Linked DNA regions of Homo sapiens: region 1 is linked to region 2. The links are contacts of gene promoters, found by promoter capture Hi-C in blood cells and fetal thymus (Javierre and others, 2016). All regions are on one chromosome and are shown on one strand. Each heading gives the region's core, a stretch centred on a gene start or on the middle of the fragment in contact. The rest is flanking DNA. Distances are from core to core; before and after follow the strand shown. Region 1 holds the start of RELL1 (RELT like 1). Region 2 holds the start of TMEM33 (transmembrane protein 33).

Evidence for each region. The method cuts DNA at HindIII sites, captures the fragments that hold promoters and counts their contacts. A CHiCAGO score of 5 or more calls a contact.
Region 1: a contact is called between the fragment with the promoter of RELL1 here and the fragment with the promoter of TMEM33 in region 2, in 1 of 17 cell types (activated CD4 T cells). The highest score is 5.2, in activated CD4 T cells.

The regions. Positions count from the first base shown.
Region 1 is chr4:37,683,101-37,688,120 of GRCh38, reverse strand. It overlaps RELL1 (RELT like 1), which reads left to right and starts at 1,745. Exons shown (of 7, transcript NM_001085400.2): 1 at 1,745-1,921. The coding sequence starts at 1,834. RefSeq lists silencers at 1,047-1,356, 1,537-2,206. The HindIII fragment of the contact is 3,799 bases long and covers 1-2,847 here.
Region 2 is chr4:41,933,587-41,938,186 of GRCh38, reverse strand. TMEM33 (transmembrane protein 33) reads right to left here and starts at 2,758. Exons shown (of 7, transcript NM_018126.3): 1 at 2,658-2,758. The coding sequence starts at 2,702. It overlaps LOC105374426 (a long non-coding RNA gene), which reads left to right and starts at 3,512. Exons shown (of 3, transcript NR_188374.1): 1 at 3,512-3,581. RefSeq lists enhancers at 2,369-2,438, 2,449-2,498, 2,739-2,918. The HindIII fragment of the contact is 15,520 bases long and covers 1-4,600 here.

The sequences.
Region 1 (5,020 bases), core at 496-2,995, 4.2 Mb after region 2:
TTGTGCCCTGCAAATTTTATAGCTGGTTCTGGCTACAACTTCTAATTTATAGTTTAATTTCTAGGTCCGGGATTCTCTCCTGTTTTAGTTAGAAATCCACATGGATCGCTTTCCTCCGCACACATTCTCAATGTTTATGTTGATATAAAACTAGCAAAGGCTGCCTGCTAAGACTGCCAGACTGTAGGATGCGCTGCCAACTGAGCGCAGGACGCGCAGTGCCCTCCTTGGGCTTCAAAGGGCAGGGGCTCCATCCTTCAGCCTCAGCCATCTGTACTGTAGTGGCCTGAGCTTCTGTCACTGGCAATTCCCACATCAATGCAATGTTTGTAATAATAGTCCAGCAGACTGCGTGGAGGACTCGGTGAGAGAATAAATAGTCCTCTGAAAACTAGAGGTTATCAGTCACCTCAAGGATGAGACCCATCCTGTGAAAACCCACAGCCTCCATGCACCCCCTCTTCTTGCTGGTGTTGAGTATTTGCTCAAGTCCTGCCCTAATTTCCTTCAAGCAAATGCTTGATGGCCCAGTAACAACAGTCTCTACAGGGCAGTAAAAAGGAACTATTCAGAGAGAGCCTCTGAGTCCTATTAATGCTTGTGAAGATGATTCAACTTCAGAAAACACTTCTGACCTCTTAGCGTGTGCTGTCTGTCCTCCATCCAGGCGCTGAGGGCACAGCAGCGAGCAAACACAATGACAATGAGATAATTACAATTTATCATGGTGGCCCAGACATCGTGGGTTTACTCCCTGGCCTCTAATAGTCACCTCGCAGAGCTGATGTGAGGATGTGAGGAGATAATAAGCGTCTGGGCATTGAAAGACCTACTTTGCGGGAGTATGCGCAAGGTGCAATACAAGCACACGATTAAAAAAAAAAGGCAAGTTGTTCCTGAAAATGCATAGAGGTATTTTCCCCAATAGGAGCAGCTTAAATGCAAACAAACAGAGGAAGAAATTTAAGTTATCTTTTCTGCTAATTTCCAAACAACAGAACGTGACATCCAGCACAGCATCACTCCCTAGATCTGCAACCGAGGGGAATGCTAGTGGATAGACATGCCAACAGCGAAAAAAGCCTGTGCTCACTCCAGTGCTGGCCGCTTCTGACTGTCCAGTGCTTCTCGGGGCGCGCTCCCTCTTTCTCTTCCCACGCCCGCCTAGTCCCAGCGACCGAGGGAGGTTGCACCCGGGCGACCCTCCCCCCGCCCCGGGCTCCCGCGTAATCCCGGCCCGGCTTGGAAAGGAAGCGGGCCTGGCAAGTAGAGGCACGGCCGGGCCACGGTGGGCAGGGCGCAAGGGCGGGGCTATAGCCTAACTGCGCCGCCAAGGCTGCTGCTGGGTTTGGAAAGGAAGCGGGAGAGGAGGGGTCGGGCTGAGCTGTGGGTGGGGAAAAGGGCGGGGCCATGGATGGGCCACGTGCCTTCTTAGGTGGAGTCCGGGGCTCGGTAGGGAGAGGCGGGGCCAAGCTGAGGTGGGTGGAGAAAGAGGGCGTGTCCATGGCCTAGCTACGCCGCTGAGGCTGCTGCGGGGTTTGGAAAGGAAGCGGGAATGGCAGGGAGAGGCGGGATCAGGCTGAGGTGGGCGGGGAGTCGGGGGCGGAGCCATGAGTGGACCTCGTGCCGGCTTAGGTGGAGCCCGGGGCGCGCGGGGAGAGGCGGGACCGAGCCGAGGTGGGTGTGGCGTGGGGCGGGGCAATGGCGGGGCGGGGTTCGCCGCTCCCTGGGGCCCAGCCCAGCCACTCGATCAGCCCGCCGGCTCCGGAGCGGCTCTGCCTTCCCGAGCGCGGGACGCGGCGCCCTGGGGGAGGAGGGCGAAGCGACGCGGCGATGGCTCCGCGGGCACTCCCGGGGTCCGCCGTCCTAGCCGCTGCTGTCTTCGTGGGAGGCGCCGTGAGTTCGCCGCTGGTGGCTCCGGGTGAGTGTCCGGTCGTAGCCGGGGCGCCGGGTGCTGAGCCCGGTCCCGGGAGCGCGGAAGGAAGCGAGGGGTCGGGACGGCAGCCCCGCGGCGTCCTGCTTTCTGGCACAGCCGCGGGATCCCGGCACTGAACAACTGGCTGTCCCGCGGCGGTCCGGGCAGGGCGCGGTGCGTGGCAACGGCTCCCGTCCCTCCCCTCCCGCGGGCCCCGCTCCCGCCTTCCCTCCCTGGGGCCTCCTCCGAGGATCTGTGTTCCCCAGCGCTGGGCAGTGCGGGGCGTAGGGACCAGGCCTTCTTCGGGGGCGCTTCCTCCACGGCCGCTCGCCTCGGAACCCCGCGGACCCGTTTCCCGCCGCCCTTGTCCTCAAAGGCGCCGCGAGCGGAAGATCGTGACACAGAGCACCGGGTGCGCTGTCGGCGCCTCCTTCTCCCTTTTAAATACCTTAAAATATCCTAAAACCTGGAGGACTTTGAATCTCTTTCCACGTTTCCATTTATTTGGGTGGTTGATGGATTCTTGTAACAGGTCAAGGAGTCCACATTTCTTCCCATATATCCTGTATAAATCAGGCTCGGAAAAAGGGAAGGCGCGTTGGTAAACTTACATTTTTTTCTTCTTTTTGTTGATTCCTGTCGTCACGAAAGGAACCTTGTGTGGTCAGGGCAGGAAGCCACCAACAGAGATGCTAAAGTGTCACCAACGATGAAGCAGTTTTTAATTGAAATCAATCTTAAGAGGAGGTGTAAGTTTTATGGAAGTCCTATGTCACATCCTTGCTTTTATAATTACAGACACTAGGGATTCCTTACCACCGCTTCCCCTCTTAATTGCCACCTAACAGCTGCAGTTAAAAAAAAAACATACTTACTTGGCCATTTGGGGTTACTACAGCTGGGAATCTGACGTCAGCAAGCTCTTCCAAGCTTGATTTCAGCGGTGGTTCCTCCTCAGGCCCAAATAATAAGCAACTGGAAGCCTTTCAACAGTGACTGTCTCCTCCATAAACATCCATAAACTCTTCCTCCTGAGAACATTTCAGTCGCTTACAACTTTTACACTGACTTAGCAGTTTGGCCTTCACTTTTTCATAGAAACCAGAGCAGGTTGGAAGGGAAGGAGATGGATAATATTGTCTCCTGAGTCTTTTTAGCAGGCCCGTATTTCCGTTAGCCATCCACCTGGGGAAATGGCAGCTAGTGACATGTTTTACTGGATGGGACAATTTTTTTTTTCTTTTCCTTATTTTGATACAGGGGCTCATTTTGTCACCCAGACTGGAGTGCAGTGGCACAACCTCGGCTCACTGCAACCTCCAGCTCTCTGGTTCAAGTGATTCTCCTGCCTCAGCCTTCTGAGCAGCTGGGATTACAGGCATGTGCCACCATGCCCGGCTAATTTTTGTATTTTTAGTAGAGATGGGGTTTTGCCATATTGGCCAGGCTGGTCTCGAACTCCCGACCTCAAGTGATCCTCCTGCCTCGGCCTCCCAAAGTGCTGGTATTACAGGCATGAGCCACCATGCCCTGCTGGTTCATTTTGATTTTCATCCTGCGTTTGATTGCTGGGACACATAGGTGCATAATCAGGTTCCACTTGGATGTGAGGTTGGAGACATTCATTAGAGGGTTAGAGTCAGTTGCAACAGAATCTGGGGAAGAGTTTAATCTGGGAGTAAAATTATTAAAAATTCAGCACATGATGCATGTAATTAGCCATCATCAGCAGGAGAAATCCATCCCTAGAGTGGGTGTGTGTTTGGTTTGACCTCTGAGCAACACCCAGGTCTCAGGACTAGAATGTGACTGATGAAAGCTCTCATCTAATTGCATGACAGCCTTTTTTTTTTTTTGATGAAAATTAATGCGGAAGAAGAAACAGGTGTCTAAAAAGGAAAGGATACAGAGCACAAATTTGCCAGTATCTTGAGGCGTGTGTAAAGAGAAGATGCTCTGACCAGCCAACATCTGATCCCCTTGCAACCAAAGATGGTGTTAATGTTTGTACCTTGAGCATAGGGAAGTAGAGGGAAAGGAATGGGAAATACTGTTGAGTGCCTGCTGTGTGCCAGGCTTTGGGTTGAGTACTTTGTATGCATTTTTATTTTTATTTATTTTTTTCTTTTTGAGACGGAGTCTTGCTCTGTCGCCCAGGCTGGAGTGCAGTGGCGCGATCTCACTGCAAGCTCCGCCTCCCGGGTTCACGCCATTCTCCTGCCTCAGCCTCCAGAGTAGCTGGGACTACAGGCGCCCGCCACCATGCCTGGCTAATTTTTTATATTTTTAGTAGAGACGGGGTTTCACCGTGTTAGCCAGGATGGTCTCCATCTCCTGACCTCGTGATCCGCCCACCTTGGCCTCCCAAAGTGCTGGGATTACAGGCGTGAGCCACCGCGCCCGGCCGCATTTTTATTTGTTTATTTATTTTTATTTTTATTGTTTTTTGAGACAGAGTCTTGCTCTGACTCCCAGGCTGAGGTGCAGTGGTGCGATCTCAGCTCACTACAACCTCCACCTCCCAGGCTCAAGCAATTCTCCTGCCTCAGCCTCCCTAGTAGCTGGGATTATAGGCGCCCGCCACCATGCCTGGCAAATTTTTGTATTTTTTAGTAGAATCGGGGCTTCCCCATGTTGGCTATGCTGGTTTGTAACTCCTGACCTCAAGTGATCCGCCCTTCTCGACCTCCCAAAGTGCAGGGATTACAGGTGTGAGCCACCGCGCCCAGCCTTCATAGGCATTTTTAAACTCATTGCTCATAACCCTGTGAAATACTTACTTCCAGTAAGGCAACTGAGGCAAGAGAGGTTAAACAACTGGCTGAACATCACATAGGTACTGTGCCAGTCAGCATTCAGAGAAGCAGAACCACTAGGAGGTGTCTGTGTATGTGTGTACCTTTATATGTATCTTTATCTGGGATAACCCAGCCTGCTTGATTCCAAAGTTCATTCCCTTTCCACTGTACCCCACTGCTCTGCAGAGGAAAAATAGAATATGAGTCAACCTCTGCAATCTCGCTGAGATTCTAAGATAGTTTAGAACGTCATAAAATTGTAAGCATGTGGTTATCAGAAGTTGTCAAGTAGAGAAAAGAAGGGCAG
Region 2 (4,600 bases), core at 1,509-4,008:
TTCTTAGCAAAAAATCTCAAATCCGAATAGGTAGGTCTCAGAGCTGAGTAAAACATCACATAAAGCCAGTTGGGATTAAAGAAACCTTTTGAAGAAGAAATATAAAACCATGATAGTAGTAACAACTAAACTCATTCGCCTTGTAATCTGCCTACATGCACAAGGGCCTGGCATACTCTAGGTGCTCAAAATGTGGCTGACAGGTATTAAATGGCCACCTGCCTCTCTGATTACACCACTCTCTTTATCACCTCCATGTTCCCCCACAAGTCTTACCCTAGTTTCGGTGGTCCTAGATTAAACTTTCCTATACCATTTTCTTCCCCCATTTTTTTCCCATTCTATCTTTCCTTTGCTGCTTTCCCCCCAATACTTATGTCTATTACCACTAAAGCAGAATCTTAAAATGTGTTTTCTCATTAAAATGTATCTTATATTCAAAAGTGGCTTTTACATTTTTTGTCTAGGATCTTCGTAATTTTAACATTGAGATCCATATACATGGATATATAAACAAAAGTTTCACAAATATTTACCCTACTGTATATAATGGATTTTGACATTTTCTATTTAATTTTTTAAAAATAGCTGGTGTTTACACTAAACTGACTTCTCAACTCACTAATGGGTCTACCTGAAGTCTAAAAACACTGCTCTATGTAATTTAATTTCATTATCTTTTGAAAAAAAAATATAAAAAATTTGAGGGAAAAATCCAAGTACATTGTAAAATTCCAGGCTGTTTTATTTTATGTCTTTTTAACCCACATGTAGGTAATTTCAGAAATATGAAATACAACTTTGATTTATCATTAAATCCAGACTTACCGTACTGTGACTCCAATAAACTGAAATGATTAGCAGTAATCAAGTGAAGGATGAATCCAGCTTACTGTGCTCAGTTTCTCAACAAATATTATGACTGGGCACCACAGCTTGAAAGTTAGTTTTAGAACATTCTCCTTAAAATCTATTTGTTCAGGTTGTTTATTCTGCAATAAATCATTGAGCTATGCGTTTCATTTTGTACACACTTATGTATATTATACAATTTTAAAAGTTTAAGAAAGTCTATTGGTATACATTTTTTAAGAGTAAACTGTCCAACCATCAGGCAAAAAAAAAAAAAAATCACTAGATCTTTGGGTGAAAAATTGTTGAGGAGCAATATTCACACAGTGTCACAGTATCATGCCAAAGAACACTTTTTAATTAGAAAGGAAAAAAGGTATCTTTACAATGGAGAAACTGGTGGACACCACCTTAATCAAATAATCAAACAAATTCTGCAATGATGGGATAAATCAATGTAAAATGCTTCCTGATATATAATATAGATATACATATTAGATGTACCTATATATGCTGCAAAACATGTCTGGACTCTTGAAAACTATCAGTATCTTAAAAGACAAAAAAGGGGAGGAGAGGGCAGAACTGTTCTAGATTAAAAGGCAGTAAACAAGATATGGCCAGTAAATTGAATGCATGCTTTCTGAGATAGGGTCTCGCTCTGTCACCCCAGGCTGGAGCGCAAAAGCACAACCCACCTCAGCCTCCTGAGTAGCTGGGACTATGCTGGGACTATAGGAGCGCACCTCCACGACCGGCTAATTTATGTTTGTTTGTTTGTTTGTTTGTTTTGAGAGAAGGTTTTGCTCTATCACCCAGGCTGGAGTGCAGTGGCGCGATCTTGGCTCACGGCAGCTTCAACTTCTCGGGCGCAAGCGATCCACCCGCCTTGGCCTCCCAAAGTGCTGAGATTACAGGCGTGAGCCACCACGCCCCGCCTAATTTCTTTGATTTCTAGTAGAGATGAGGTCTCGCTATGTTTCCAAGGCTGGTCTCTAACTCCTGAACTCAAGCGATCCTCCCGCCTTGGACTCCCAAAGTTCTGGGCTTACAGGAGTGAGCCACTGCGCCAGCCCATCGATGCATGCTTTTTGACAGAATCCCAGATGAAGAGAAAGCAGCTTTAAAGGACAATTATGGAAATTTGCACATGGATTTTATATTAGGTAATATTTCCCAAATGTGGTAACTGCATTGTGGTCACACAGAATAATACTTAACTACTTATGGATTAAAAAGTAGAGGACAGCAATGCTCCGGGCACAAATAACTTGTTAGCTCCAGATCAGCATCTTAAAAAAATTACAAAAGCATAATGATATTTCTCTTCATAAAGAACAAAGTGAAGAAGAAAAAGACCACCGCTCTCCTCCCTTTGCATAATTTCTATATACGATTGTATAAACTAGGCAGAAACGTTCTTTGCCGGCACTCGTGTGCTCCACGTGGTGTGTGTCATGGATCATGTGTGTCATGGCACAATCTCATGCGGCATCTTTAACCTTGGGGCCTACGGTAAACAAAAGACCGAGGTGGGAGAAGAGGAAAGAAGGCCCAATTTCCATGGCATACAGGTGGGGGCCACCAGCTCCAGGTCAGCCTATTGTCGCTTCAGAAACAAACTTGTAGTTCCCTCCATATCTTCGCTCAGGACCTCCCCTCTCCCCGCTCCAACTTCCCCACCCCAACTCATTAATCCCATTCCTGAATGCACTGAGCTTCTGGAACGCCTCGGGACTCGCAACGCTTCCTGCTTCTTCCTAACTCTTGCAAATCAAGCCAGACTACCCTGCCCTCGCACTTACCACAGCGCCCGCCCCTTGGGGGCCGTTCGGGGTCGTATCTGCCATGGGGGCTCACACTAGCGTCTGCGACGCCGCAACCGCGAAGAGAGAAGAAAGGGGAGAGAAAACGTCAGCGCTGGGGCCAGGACCCGGGTACCGGCTTCCCTGCCTCGCGCCACACACAGGCCGGATGCACCCTGCCGGAACTCTGAGCCTCCACCAGGGAAGGGTCTCGCTCGCCTGGTGCAGCCGACTGGATCCAGGGCACCCGCAGCAGCCGGGAGGTACCTGTCCCGCACCGCCGAGATCAAAGCGGTGTTTCCAGAAAGACGGGAGCGAAGGTGGAGCTTCGGGGTGAAGCCCTAAAGAGCCAACCTACGCCGCCGGCTCCAGGTTATTGCCGAACCCGGAAGTGCTCCTTTCATTTCCGTGGGGAAGAGGCGGTGACAAAGAGGGGGAAACGGGAGCGGTGCCCAGAGGCATGACGGGAAGTGTGGTTTTTTTCTCCTAATTTGAGCCCCACCTGTCCTTCCGCCGATTGGCCCAGTGAGCTAAGAAATCAGGATGGGGGAGCAACTTTTGCATTAAATACAGCTCACAAATGATCTTTCCTGCCCATTCTCAAACCATGAAATTTCCGCACTTCCTGATATAGAGGCCTCAGAAACATCTTTGATTCCTTTCTCCAGGGGCTTACTAAGCCCGTTGGTTCTACGTCTATTATTAATTCTTTCAATAAGTATTTATGAGGCCTGCTATGTGACAGGCTCCATACTTGGCACGGCGGATAAAAAGAGGAATATGACACAGATTGCAAAAGAGAAACAAGTAAACGGAAATCAGAGCATAGTGATTGTGTAATATGTGTAGAGGCTGATTTAATCACAGGGAGCACAGAGGACGGTACCTAAATCAGAAGGGATCTGGGGAGGTTTCCTGGAAAAGGTAAGTCCGGGCCTTGATCTTGAACGACAAAAAGTTGGCTGAAAGTGTTACTGGTGTAGGGTGTCCAAGTTCTTGGCGTTTTGAACATAGAATTGGACAAAACGCACAAAGCAAGGAAAGAATAAAGCAACAAAAGCAGAGATTTGTTGAAAATGAAAGTACACTCCAGAGTGTGGGAGAGTGAGACAGCAGCTCAAGGGCCCTGGATACAGAGTCTTCTCGGGTCCAAATACCCCCTAGAGGTTTCCCATTGGCCACTTGGAGTTCACTTCATGTAAATGAAGTGGTGGCCCGCAATCAGTCTGAATGGTTGCGCAAAGCAACCAATCAGAGGCTGAAGAAGTTACAAAGTTACACTTCTATGCAAACGTCTGATTGGTTACAAAAAGCAACCAATCAGAGGTACTTTCAATTTCCCAAATCTGCGCAGAACAGGTTGGGGCTTGCAAAGGGAGTAGTATCTGGCCCTTTATTCACTTAAGCGTGGACAGTAAGGATTTTCCTTCAATTTAGTTCTAGGAAGTCAGCGAGAAAGGGCATTAGGTTCCCTACCGCCATACCATATTCTTCTGCCTTAAAACGGGAAGGGAACTCCATACAGAGTAACAGAAAGTGCAAGAAGTAACAGGACAGCGAGAGGACTAGTTGAGTGTGACCAGAATGATGGTACCAGTCAGGGGATTGTGAAAGATTTGCGCTAGAGAGGCAGGCAGGGGTGTACTGAGGAAAGGATCTGAACTTGACCCTGAAATCCAGAGAACCATGGAACAATTTTAATCAGAAGTGTGACATCCTGAGATTTAGAAAGTTCTCTCTGGCAACAGGGTGGAGGATGAACAGAGGGGCAAATTAAAAGTCAGGAAATTCGTTGTGAAGCCATTTATATATATATAAACTAAAAATAAAATCCTAAGTAAGGGGTCTGTCGACTGACTGGATAGATCCCTTTCTTGGCCAAGGGGACCCCAGCCATGATGGGACAGGAGATCAGACATGCCTCATTATACCCCCTCCCTTTT